3 separate regions of the Homo sapiens genome follow, and regions 2 and 3 are each linked to region 1. The links are contacts of gene promoters, found by promoter capture Hi-C in human tissues and cell types (Jung and others, 2019). All regions are on one chromosome and are shown on one strand. Each heading gives the region's core, a stretch centred on a gene start or on the middle of the fragment in contact. The rest is flanking DNA. Distances are from core to core; before and after follow the strand shown.

Region 1 (4,433 bases), core at 701-3,200:
CCTCCTCCCAAAGTTGAGGGGGGACATTTTGATCCACTTAGGAAAGTCTCTTGTTCCAAGGGTAGGGGAACAAAGTACAGGGTTTGCATTCCTTCTGGGTTACACCAACCCCTCCCCCCTCGCTGTCAGGACCACCTTCCGGGCTCAAATTCTGCAGCTTCTCCCATCAGCAGACCCAGCACTCCCCAAGGACTTCGGGGTAGAAGGAGTTGGGGTTATTTTTAAGGGGGCACCCCTTCCTGGCAGGCACTCTCAGAGCCTAGGTAGGCACCTCCTGCTGGGACAAGGCTATGGCATAGGACAGAGGTGATGCCCACCTCTATCATCCAGTGGGGCTCGGGGTCGAGACCTTATTGATCATAAAGACGACTTTTTGGCACCTCGCGTCCCGCTCCCCTCCGAGGCGGAGCCAGGCTCTGACTCCAGCCAGGCTGAGGTTGGCACCAGGCTCCGAGGAGGATCCCGGACGCGGAGCCTGTAGTCTCGGTGCCTGCGGCTCTTCGCTGGTCCCGCCTCCCTCCCTCCTGGCTTTTAGCCTCACGTTGGCTCTCTGCTCACTGCGCGAAAGGGTTCAGCTCCATTTAAGACCCACTACGCGGCGGCACTGGGTGGGAGGCCGGCCGCGGACCCTGGGGCTGCGGAGCCACCTCTCACTGGCTCCGGAGAACCCGCTCGGCTTCAACCTCCTTCTAGCTGTCTTAGCCTAACCCGGGAGCAAGTCCACACGGCGGGACACACACACACACACACACACACACACACTGAGCTGCTCACAACTCCCCAGCCCCGGAAGCGTCCATACCTCCCTGCACACGATAACCACACGCTCCATGGCACGCATACACACACTCCCAGCCCCATGAAGCCCACGACTCCCAGGCACCTGCACCCCCACCCATCCCACATAAGCAGACTCTTGTCCAGTGTCACAGTCCCATCTCCTGTGCACACAGAAATAGTAATCCGCTGTCGTACACCCCTAGAGACCTGCACACTCGGGACACACGTGAAACGCCAAACCTCACATACCCACCCCCTAACACCTCACACCCACAGTGACACAAGCTCACACACTTCACACCCTCACAGGGAAGGTGGCACATGTTCACACCCTCCCCCCAACATTCGCTCACACTCTCACACACACACCTTCTCCATGTAACTGACACAGACACTCTAACACCCATCCAGACCCTCGCTCACTCACACGCAGACCCCACACCATCACACACACACGCACACACACACTTGCATCTCTAAATACACTCCCGCACCTTCTGCCCACACAGCTCCTTCCCGGACACCCTCACCCAGACACACAACAAAGACACACAATTTACACACACACACACACCCTGGCACAAATCCATGAGCGCTCTCCAAGAGGCGTCCTCCCTCCCTCATCGAGCCAACCAGCTCCACAGACCCCGGGCAGGACCGGTGCTCGTAGCCCGAGCCTCTCGGAGCGACCCCGGCCAGCGCCCTCCCCCGGCACCCCGTCCCCGCGCACGTTCACCGCTCGGCTCCCGCCAGGCGCCCGCGCACTCACCGCGCGCCAGGTCCAGGATCGCGGCGAGCAGCAGGCAGACGCAGCGGCGGAGGCTCGGGGCGGTTCGCATGGTGCCCGGGAGCTGGCGGCGGTGGCGGGGCGGCGGGGGTGGAGGCGGTGGCGGCGGGTCCCCTCGCCATGGGCTCAGACGCGCTCCTGCCTCCGGCCACTGGCCGAGGCGGTGGCGGGCAGCGCGGAGAGCCGCGGGGGCGCCCCCATGCCGCCGCGGCCAGGCAGCCCGGGCGCCCGGCTCGACTCGGCTCCGGCTCTGCGAGGCGCAGCGACCCTCGCGCTCTGGGCGTCCTCGGGGCTCGCCGCGGTTCTCGGCTCCCTAGCTGCGCGCGGTGCCCACCGCGGCCCAGAGTCCGATCGGCTGCAGCGCCGGAGTTTGGAGCCGAATCGCGCTCTCTGCCTCGCGCTCGCCTCTCCCGGCGGCGCGAGCACCCCCCTCCTCTCGCCCTCCCTCCGTCCCTCCCCCTCTCCCCGCCCCCCCGCCCTCCTTGCCCTCCCCTCGCCGCGCTCTCCGCGTATTATACAGACTTTTCTTTAATCCTTTCTGGGCTGTTCGGCTCTCGTCCGCTAAGCCGATTTATTGCAGGGAGAAGGAGAGCTCACCCCCTCCTAACCTCCCCTCTCCCCTCACTCAGGTCCCCCCTCACTCAAAACTGGCTTGCTGCCTCCAGCTTCTTAACCCTTACCCAGGTGACCCAACACCCCGCCCTGGAAGCTATGCTCCATCGGATCCGCCTTTACCTAGCCCCTCCTATCCCCGGGATTACCATCGCCCTCCCCGCTACTCAGCCTGATGAAAGGAGGCAGCCTCCCTCCCGAGAGGGAAAGATGCCATCCTGGGAGCAGGGCAGGCAGGGTGTGGCTCTGGAGTTCTGACCTTGCCAACGATGAATGCCCTCATTGGGCAAGATTAAGGGGTTTCCATGTTCTGAAACTTCCCCAATTACGGCTGCTCCTTCCCCCAGGGACCCACGGAAATGGGGTGTGTTCTGTCTTTTTCCCATGTGCTAGGATCCAGCCAGGAAGGGTGAGGAACTGATTGTTTCCTCCTGGCAGAGACCAAGTTTCCACCTTTTTGCCAGACCTGACAGCTTTTCTTCCCAGGTCCGAGAAGAACAGGTTTGGGACTTGTATGTTACCATTACTCTCCCACCAACACACACGCGAGCACACACACACACACACACACACACACACACACACCATTGAGCCTCAGCCCTGGCGGTGGACTTTGAGGCCTCCTGCGAGGATGAAGGGGAGGGGTACTCTAGCCCTTGGAGTGGACTGGGGATGTGGTTAGATGAGGAAGTTCAGGAGATAGAATTTCACCATTGGTAGGGACCCAGAAGATTGGCAAAGCCCAGAAAAACCAGCACGACCAGGGGCAAAACCTGCTCAGAACTCAGGTGGGTCCCTTTACCCAGGCCTTCTATGGAGAATCTCCAGCTTCCCTAGCTCTGGCAGGTTGCTGAGTCAGGCTGTTGCATCGTTTACCTACATGGGCAATGGGTCTATAGCCAGTTCCATCTCCAGCAGCCCTCTGAGAGGAGTGTAGGGAGTGGGGTGGGCAATGGGTGGTTGCTGGGCTGCCTCTGGGTGAGCTTTGTGCAGAGATGTCCATGAAAGTGAACTGCTCCCTCCTCCTGCCCTCTGGAACCTCACCCCATCGCCTCCCAAGGCAGCTCTGCGGCTCAGCTTGCTCACCCACCCCAGAAGGAGCGATTTGCATTTATGAAGATCTGAAAGCATACGTTCACCTGACAGGCTTTAGAATGATCCTCTCAGTAAAATAATAATAATGATCATAATAAACCCTTATAAATAGGTGTTTGATTACAGTTTGTCCCTAAGTGGGATTTTTTTTTTTTTTTTTTTTTTTTTTTTTTGTGAATCAGACTAATTGGTTCCAGGTTGATTGGACTGCATATGGCTTGAACACTTGATGAACACTGGAGTCTTAGGTCCTTTCTTCTCCCTTTGGCTGCTGTTCTTTGCTCCCTCTCACTCGCATCCACCCAGGTCTCCCCTTCTCCAGGCTGCTGAGGGTCAGCTTGAGGTCACCTCTCCCCCTCACCTTCTTCTCAGGCTGCAGGGCACAGTCCCTTACTGCCTCCTCCCTGGCCCTCCCTCCCCACTCTGACCCAAGAAAAAGTCAACAAACCCAAAAGTCCATCCCAGGTTCTAAATCCTCTGTGGAAGGGGCTCCCTGGCTGGGGAACAGCATCAGGTTCATGCGGTTCCTTGTGCTGGTCTGAGTTGTGCAGGGAAATGCCAAGCATCGCTGTGTGGGCATTCCTACTCTCTGGCCCCAGCTGCAAATCGGCGTGCAGCTAGGCAGGTGGACAGCATCAGTTCCTCAGGTGAACCCTGAATTGGTGGGGCTTCCTGGCTGCGCTCCCTGCAGCCCAGCCCTTGGAGATGAGGGCCAGGGAGCAGGTGGGATTCCAGGGCCCCTTAGTGATGTTTCTTCCCAGCCATGGTTCACACCAGCTAGAAAAGAGAGCCAGCAGAAGGAGCTAGAGAATGGCATCTGAGGATATGCTAGTGAGGAGGAAAGCAGGCCTAACAGCCAAGGGAGGGTTGCTTCCTAGGACCAAGGATTGGGGCTGGTGTGTTGGAGATCTCCTTCAGCCCCAAGACTTCTGAATCACCTCAATTCTCTTTAACATCACCCTGTATTATAATTATTATTATGCCTAGCCAGTGCCTGACACATAGTGGATCCTCAATAAATACCAGTTGGATGAATGCGTGAATGAATGAATGAATGAATGAATGAATGAGGGTAGGTCATTCAGTCTTATCCACTCTGTTCCTCAGCTCCTTGCACAAGTCTGGCACTTGGTAGGCGTCCTGTGGCAGTGAACCTCCT
Region 2 (4,433 bases), core at 842-3,341, 63 kb after region 1:
CACAGATTGGTTAGTCTCCTGCTCCCAGCCCCAAATTAGCTCAGTTTATAGCACATATATTTCTGGAGCTCTGGGATAGAGACATAGATGAGCCGGTCATGATCTCTGCCCCCAAGATGTTACGGTCTAGTAGGGGAGAGAGATGTAGAAAGAATAAGTAATGCAATCACAGAGGACTGCAAGGCCCTGGGGCAGCAAGTGGAGGGTGTGGTTAACCTTGGTGTCTGCAGATGGCAACCAGGAAGGTGCCAGTTAAGCCTTAGCCCATGTGGCACAGACACACCTCACCTGGAATTTAGGGCATGGCTTGCAGATGTCTGCTTTTACATTCTGGAACCCAGGCCTGGCCAAATCTTGGGTTGAGCAGAAACTGCTGAACTGTAAAGGAGGGGTCGTCTGCTCCTGTTGGCATGACCTGCCATGCTTTTGCCTGTATATTAACTTTGCAAGTCAGCAAATGACCCACTGAGGGTCTTAGTGGAAGGAGCACTGGTTTTAGAGTCTGGCAGAATTTCCTTCCAATTCAGGCTCTGCTCTTTACTGAGAGTGAGACTTGGGAATCTCCACCTCCTCCTCTTCTAAATGAGGGGAACGATGCCTTCATCAAGAGGGGTGGGGCTGTGTGATGAAATGGCCCACGGTGGGAAGGCACTTAGTGAGTGCTCTCGGGCATGTGGCAGGCTCCCGGGCCGGCCAGTGCTAGCGGGTGGCTGGGCTCCTGGAGGCCTGGGGCTGGGCTGTGTGCTGTTCTGTACACAGGTCTGCACCATCCTTCCCTCTCCTCTGCCTGCCTCCACTTGGGTCAGTAGCTCGCTCCTGGGGGAGTCTCAGGGGACCTCATGCATTCACTCTTTGAGTCATTAATTCACATACGAATTGCCAGGACAGTTCTCTCTGCCAGTGACCAGCAGGGCATCTATTTCCAACCTCTCTAACCAATTATATAAAGCACTGAAATTTTCTTAAAGTACCCTCCCTCCCTGAAGTCTTCATCTCCTTCCTCCCCCCTACTTTGCAAGCTGAAATGGAATTATATATATTTTTTGCCATCATCTGCTGTAGACTATGGCTCCCAAAGAATCATGGGTAATTTCAGATGCAAATGTCCTATGCAAATCCAGCTGCTGGTTAAAATTAGGAGGAAGCCCAAGGCAGATGCAGTTGCAGGCTGTAACTGGAATCTCCACCGAGCCTTGATTTAAAATGCAAGTGACGCTGCAGGCTTTCAACACGGAGCTACAAGCTTAGTCCCAGGTCCCAAGGTTCTGTTGCTCCGTGCATGGGGTTTTGTAAAGCAAGTGTGGGTCACTTACCTGGCAGACTGGGAGCGGTTTTTCAGGCTTGTATTCCAACCCAGTGGTTCTCAACCAGGGGTGATTTTTGTCCCCCAGGGGACATTTGGCGATGTCTGAAGACATTTTGGGTGTCAGAACTTGGTAGGTGCAACTGGCATCTGGTAGGTGGACACCAGGGAAACTGCTAAACATCCTACAATGCACAGGCCAGCCCCAACTACAAAGACTCAGCGGGCCCAAAATGTAGACAGTGCAGAGGCCGAGAAACCTTCTTCAAACCTATGCCAACCCATGCCCTGGAAGTTCGCTGGGATCCACGAGAGGAAGAGAAGGTGGAGTCTTCGTTCGTTAATCAGTCATTACATTCACCTTGAAAAGAGAGTTGGATTAGTCCAAGTCCAACACAACGTTCAACTCACCATCCATTAACATCCTGATCTCACACAGCCTCACTCTTGTTTTGCTTTGTTCGATTTTTCTCCTTCTCCCTGATGCTATTGCCTGGCCCCTCCTGACTGCCCCCTCTGTAGCTCCACTCTAAAATCTCTAATATATGTCCTCAGATACGGATGGTGCCTATAAAATATATGGTGTTGTTTATTGTGCGAATGTGTTTTAATTTACATAAATTGTATTGGGCTATAGATCTCATTCTGTTGCTTAATTTTTTCACTTAACACCATGTTTTTAAGATCTACCTGAGTTGCTGTGCATTATCTCATTCGATGTTTCTGACTGCTGCAGAGTTTCTCTAGAGATGTCCGCTGTTCCAGGGGTGGACACTAGATTGCCTCCGATGCCCCACCATGTGGGTGACCCACTGGGACCACGTGAGTGTTTCCCCGGAGTCTCCCCAGGAGTGGGATGGTGGGGTCAGAAGGCGTGCAGTACTTCATTTCCCTGAATACTGACAGGTTTCTTCGAGGACACTGGTACTCAGCACATGGCATTATCCAAATTTCTCATTTTTTTTCCAACCTGATTGGTATGACATTGTTGTTTCCATTTGGGAAAGGAAGATGGAATTTTAAAAAGCATTTTCTAGGACCTAAGAATGAGAAGTCATCTTAAGAGTGAGCTAGTCCTGGGGACCTAAGGCTCCGCCTACTTACAGATGAAGCAGCTGAAGGCCAGAGAGCTCTAGGTGCACAAACTTAGGAAGCCATTCATTCTTCAAATGGTAAATAATTACCCGGAGTCTTCTCTGAGTCAGGGCCCCTGCATTCAGGACAGGGTGGTAAACAATAGAGACATGTTGCCATCCCTTGAGGAGCATATGCATGAGTGGGGAGAGAGCAAACCATTGCAGAAACAACTCATTAAATGCCACTGTGATTAGTGCTACAGAGATGCACAAGATGCTGCATTGGAGTGGGGAGGATGGGGTGCGGTGGGGGATGTCAGAGAGAGTTTCCCCAAGGAAGGGACATTTAGGCTGTGACGTAAGGGATGACAAGAATTCCCCGGGTGATGGGGGAGCGAGTTGTCAGGCTTCTCAGAGCCTTGGTCTCCTATGTATTGATGAGATAACATACATGGGCCATGTAGCTAATGTGAGATAAACATAGTGGCTGGGCACTGTGTTAGGAGCTGAGAGATGAAGCTGATGAGATCAGGAGCCCAGCCCTCGACAAGTGATGAGCTCACAAACAGGGGTTCCATTGCTGGAAGCCATGTACAAAGGTGAGGACACTAGGGAGCTGAGAAGCTGCAGGGATGGGTGGTACAGATGGGTGGGGTGGAATTGGGGAGAGGGGTGATGGGGATGGATGGGACAGTGCAGGTTAAGTGGAAGTGAAGTGGGGTCAGATGTCTCTTTCTGAGGGACCCAAGGCAGTCAGAGAATTCAGACTAGATGCGGGGACCAAGCTTTGAAAGCAACACAGTAAGCATTGAAAGTAGGGAAGGCTCCTCTGCGAGACCCCTTGGCACAAGTCTGGGGATGGGTAAGAGGTGCCAGGTTTGGTGACTGCAGAATTGAGAGTGAAGAGGACTTCTGCGTCGGAGCTTCCTGTGCTTATGTAGGTCCTCCTTCCCCTATTTCACTGGGGACTTCCCTGTGAAACAAGAGCTGGAGCTTTCTCCTCAGCCTGGGAGCTCTCAGTACCTAGGAGGTCATGGGCTCTGTCCTCCACCACCTCATCAGGCCATCAGGTCCTAATGTCTGGGTTCTCCCTGCAGCCCTGTGCTCATCAACCTGGGAGTTCCCTTAAGGTGGCACCTTCCTTCCCTGGGTTTACAAAGAGCTGGGCGTCTGCTGCTGTGCCAGGAGGGCATCACTGCCCCAGTGATTCTGCTGAGTATCTGGTGGGCGGTGTCCTTATCCAGGCAGCTTTGTAGCAGCTTTGAAGGGGCTGACAGAGGTTACTGTTCTGTACCCTCCTCTTTACCCTGCCTGCCACAATTTATAAACGTGCCTCTTTTCTAGAACTACACTGACCCCAGAACCTCAACAATTCCCCATCTTAATCTTTTTCCTGGGCACGAAGATGCCCTCTGAGGCCTTGGGGCACATGAAACATCCTTTTCCCCTCCCTGTTTTGAGAGGGAATCCCTGATGGGCCAGGCGCGGTGGCTCACGCCTGTAATCCCAGCACTTTGGGAGGCCGAGGCAGATGGATCACTAGGTCAGGAGATCAAGACCATCCTGGGTAACATGGTGAACGCAGTTTCTACTAAAAATATAAAAAAAAAATTAGCAGGGCTTGGTGGCGGGCGCCTGTAGTCCCAGCTACTCAGGAGGCTGAGGCAGGAGAATGGCGTGAACCCGGGAGGCAAAGGTTGCAGTGAGCCGAGATCACGCCATTGCACTCCAGCCTGGGCGACAGAGCGAGACTCTGTCTAAAAAAAAAAAAAAAAAAAAAAAAAGAGGGAACCCCTGATGGCCCAGCCTCTGAGAGCAGACCTCATTTTGGAGAGCCCAGGAGCAGCAGCCCTGACGGGCTTCATCCCCCCTTCCCCAACCTGATCCGATTTTCTCCTTCAGGCTTAGATGAACAGGGTGGGACGCCCTGCCTCTGGGACCCATTGGCGTCTCTGTCCCTTCCCACCCCCGCGGGGGCCCCTGCCTCCGCCTGCACAGGGTACTGTCTTCCCAGCTCTGGTCTGCGCTCTATCTGCATACTTATCAGTCCAGGA
Region 3 (4,433 bases), core at 768-3,267, 47 kb after region 1:
AGAAGATAGGGAGGCATTCCTAGAGACTGCTCTGGAGTCAGACAGATCTGATTCAAATCCTAACATCAGGCAAGTTGTGTAAGCTCCCCAAGTCTGTTTTCACATCTATGAAATGAGGCATGATAATAACAGCACCAGCCTCAAAGGACAGCTGTGAGTTAGGAAGATTGTGTGGTGGAGTGCTCAGTGCTGTGCCTGGTGTGCAGAATGTGCTCAATACCAGTGACTTATTGTTGCTAGGCTGGGGTTGAACCCCCAACCCAGGCCAACTCACAGGCTTCCCATCAGCCTACAGGCGGATGATTTTGGTTCAGGCCTTGATCCCAGATCCAGTCAGCCATGACCAAGAGTGAGATCACTTCCTGAGCTATAAAGAATGAATAGAGTTGGGCCAGGCGCGGTGGTTCACGCCTGTAATCCCAGCACTTTGGGAGGCCGAGGCGGGTGGATCACGAGGTCAGGAGATCGAGACCTTCCTGGCTAACACAGCGAAACCCCGTCTCTACTAAAAATACAAAAAATTAGCCGGACGCTGTGGCGGGCGCCTGTAGTCCCAGCTACTCGGGAGGCTGAGGCAGGAGAATGGCGTGAACCCGGGAGGCGGAGCTTGCAGTGAGCCGAGATGGCGCCACTGCACTCCGGCCTGGGCAACAGAGCGAGACTGCGTCTCAAAAAAAAAAAAAAAAAAAAGTAAAAAAAAAAGGATAGAGTTGGATAGAACAGGAATCCAAGGTGCTAGGAAGTGTGCTAGAGCAAAATCAGAGCCAGGAATGGGTAAAGCACTCGTGGGGGCCACTGAGAGAGCAATGAGAGATCTGATCATGCTGGGAAAGTAGAGTGGGCTTGGCGCTGTCCATGGTCCTGAGAAACAGCAGTGAACAAGAGTGACAGAGACCCCCACTCACAACATTGATCATCTAGATGAGGTGGGGACAGTCTATGTGAAGAAGACAATGTGCAAATCAACAAATAATGGAATCCCCAAGGTGAACTGGGTGAAGGGAGTTTTGGAACAAACTGAAGTAGGGTAAGTGGCCAGAGAGGGACAGGACCCTGTCTATCTCTGTGGTTTATCTCATGCCTCTGTTGGGTCAGGTACTGTCATTACTGGCCCTACTTTACAAATGAAGAAACTGAGGCTCAGAAAGGCTAAATAACTTCTCACTGACTCTTGAAGCAGAATTCAAAGACAGGTGGTTGTACCCCAGAGTTCAGACCATTAATGCTCACAATCCTACCTTGTCTTAGGTTGGGATTTTCCAAAAGGACACCCTAAGACAAGGATTTGAGTGCATAGAGTTTACTTTGAAGTGGCTTCCAGACACACCTGTAGGAGAATGAGGGAGTGAAACATGGAAGAGAAGAGAAGGAAGCCAACTAAGAGTGTTATGGAGCAGGTTTCCGCAGGGGGCAACCAGAGTTCCAGCCTGCTGGGAAGCAGCAGGTGAGAGCACAGAACAGGCCTGTGAGTTATTCGATGAATGAACGACTGGGGTGTGTATGTACCATTTTCCTACTTTGGTGGTTGGGGGTTGTTTTGTGTGGAAGCTGCTCCCACCTCCAGCCTGCCCCTTTGGCATGTGAGTTGGGATCTGACCACCAAAGAAAGCCCTCCAGTATGCTGGCTTGTAGAAGCCATAGAGTCACCATACACAGGAACGATGAGCTCCAGGAAGAGACTTAAAAGGGCACCAGCAACATCAACCATCCCAACTGAATTATATCATGTCCAGGCACAGTGAGAGTAACACTTCCAGAGAAAGGAAGATCAACAAGGATCAGAATGTCAGAATACCAAGGACCTCAGGTGCCAACACAAGGAATTTTATTTTATTTTATTTATTTATTTTATGGTGTCTCACTCTGTTGCCTAGTTGGAGTGCAGTGGTGTGATCTCGGCTCACTGCAACCTCCACCTTCCAGATTCAAGTGATTCTCCTGCCTCAGCCTCCTGAGTAGCTGGGACTACAGGCATGCCCCACCACACCCGGCTACTTTTTGTATTTTTAGCTGAGAAGGGTTTTCATCATATTGGCCAGGCTGGTCTCAAACTGCTGACTTTATGATCCACCTGCCTCGGCCTCCCAAAGTGCTGGGATTACAGGCATAAGCCACTCCGCCCGGCCGGGAATTTCCATTTCATCTTACGCATCACTTGGCACAGACACAGAGACATAAAGAGGAGAGAGTGCCACTAACAAATAAATGCCTACAGTGAACAAAAAGCTTTAAATTCATTAAATCAATCAAAGCTTGCATGTTCTCTGTAAGAAAAAAAGGCCTCTTTTTAGCTGAACAAACTGAGGCTCAGCTTTGGACTTTTCCCAGCATCCATAGCTCACCATCACAGGGCCTGGTTTAGAACATTTGACTAGATGAGCTCCTGCACTTTCCACCACACCAGACCTTAATTTGAAGGAAACTGAGTCCGGGGGGCCTGGGAACAGAGCCAGTGCCTCGCTGACTTCGTTCCCACATTCTCTTTCCAGTGTGAATGTCAGCTACCTAAATAACTTCGGTTATTTGGCTAAATTAATCCTCCGAGGAACTGCATAAATAGAACCGGGAAGGCATACACAGACACACAGAGACGTATATATATTTAACACGTACGAGTGATGCGTCGCCGCGTGCCGATAAACAGCCTGATGACAAGCAAAGGAAAGACATAAATACAAAAAATTATAACCCAGGGCTGGGTGCTGGGGTGCAATCCAAAGGCTCGCAGTGCCCAGTGCCAACAACGCGGGAGTGTGAGTTCCCATGGGGATTGTTGTAAAGACTGAATGAGACAATGTGTAGGTTGGTTAGCCCAAGGCTAGCTATAGTGGGGTTGGTAATCATAACTACTGTGAATTCCCTCCAGGGATGGGCTGCAAAGGCGGTCAGGGAGCTCTGGCTCAAAGGATATGTGGAGCCCATGCGGAGAGAAAAGGCCAAGCTGCCCCAGGCAGGTATCCCTGCAGTTGCGCGTACAAACACGCCACCAAACCAGTGATCCCGGCCCCCACCATTCCTTGTGCCGTGGAACTATGAGCAGGCCATGCCACCACCCAAAGCCCCAATTTCCTCATCTGTTAATTGGTAATAATAATATTAATATTAGGTTGGTGCAAAAGTAATGGCACTTTTGGCCATGACTTTTATGGCAAAACTGTGATTTCTTTTGCACCAACCTAATACTTTTGTAATGATTAAATGAAATAGAACGCACACAGCACTTGTCAAATAGATTGATGGAGTTGGTGAATGAATGGCAAAAGTGTAGCCCTATTGGGCTTGCTAGGAGGCAGGTTACAGCAACGAGGAACCCCAAGAGGCTTGACAGTTTACTTTCCACCTTTCCTTTTACTTCGTCCATTGAGAGTAAATGCATCAATGATCATGGTCCCCTCCCTCAAGCAGAAATTCACAGCAGCTATGATTATCAACTCCACTATAGCTAGCCTTGGGCTAACCAACCTATACACCTTGTCTCATTCGGTCCTTACAACAATCCCCTGAGGATGTGGCAATTTTTACCCCCACTTTCAAGATGAACCTTTCTCAGGACCTAACAGGTGATGTGACTTGCCCAGGGCCACACCTTGTGCTATAGGTTGGATCCCATCCCCTCAAAATTCACGTGTTCAAGTCCTAACCCCCCAGTGCCTCAGAAATGTGAGCTTATTTGGAAATAGGGTCTTTACAGAGATAATCAAGTTAAAAGGAGGTCATCAAAGTAAAGCCTAATCCAACATGACCGGTGCCCTCGTAAAATGGGGAAATGTAAATATGGAGAAGACACACACTCAGACACACACTACGTAAAGCGAAGGCAGGCAGGATGGTGCCTTTATGAGTCAAGCCATGCCAAAGAGTGCCAGCAAAACACCCAGTGAGAGAGCTAGAACAGATTCTTCCTGTAGCACTCAGAAAGATGCAACCCTGCAGACACCTTGATCTCAGACTTCAAGCCTCCAGCACTGAGTCAATACATTTCTGACTGCTTAAGCTTCCCATTTGTGGGACCCTGTTAGAGCAGCCCTGGCCTGTAATACAGCTGCTAAGTGCAGAGCCAGGATTACACAGAGCTGGATGCTCTCATTTCAGTTCGGTGTGCTGAGATGTCCTTTCACTCAGACCCAACCTTCCACTCAGGCCCAGCCAAGGGGAGGTGGAGTGAGGATGTGCTCAGCAAATGCTTGGAGGAGGCAGGGCGTGGAAGGATGGGGGAACAAAATACCACTGCGACCCCTGCCAGCCTTTCTAATTAGAGAGCAAAGCAGATCCTGGCAGGAGCCAGGGTCAGGGGTGCAGCAGGACAGAGCTTCCACTCATGCAGGAGGACATGAGCTGGCTGAGAAAAGCCCCTCATGCCCACTGAGTCCTGAACCTCTTTAAACCTCCAAGTGGTTAGGGATCAGCTCCAGGAGGAAGAACCGGCTGTGCCT

The links. Contacts are between HindIII fragments. The study calls those that stand out against the background at their distance.
Region 2: a contact is called between a fragment that was not itself captured here and the fragment with the promoter of IGSF21 in region 1, in 3 of the 25 tissues and cell types used here (dorsolateral prefrontal cortex, liver and spleen).
Region 3: a fragment that was not itself captured here is called in contact with the fragment with the promoter of IGSF21 in region 1 in 4 of the 25 tissues and cell types used here (dorsolateral prefrontal cortex, liver, spleen and 1 more).

The regions. Positions count from the first base shown.
Region 1 is chr1:18,105,315-18,109,747 of GRCh38, reverse strand. It overlaps IGSF21 (immunoglobin superfamily member 21), which reads right to left and starts at 1,950. Exons shown (of 10, transcript NM_032880.5): 1 at 1,550-1,950. The coding sequence starts at 1,619. The HindIII fragment of the contact is 17,740 bases long and covers 1-4,433 here.
Region 2 is chr1:18,042,116-18,046,548 of GRCh38, reverse strand. LOC105376812 (a long non-coding RNA gene) reads right to left here and starts at 2,795. Exons shown (of 3, transcript XR_947008.3): 1 at 1,994-2,795; 2 at 1,314-1,664. The HindIII fragment of the contact is 3,717 bases long and covers 233-3,949 here.
Region 3 is chr1:18,058,813-18,063,245 of GRCh38, reverse strand. No RefSeq gene overlaps it. Among named protein-coding and RNA genes, the nearest start is that of LINC01654, 4.6 kb to the left of the region's middle. The HindIII fragment of the contact is 4,771 bases long and covers 1-4,402 here.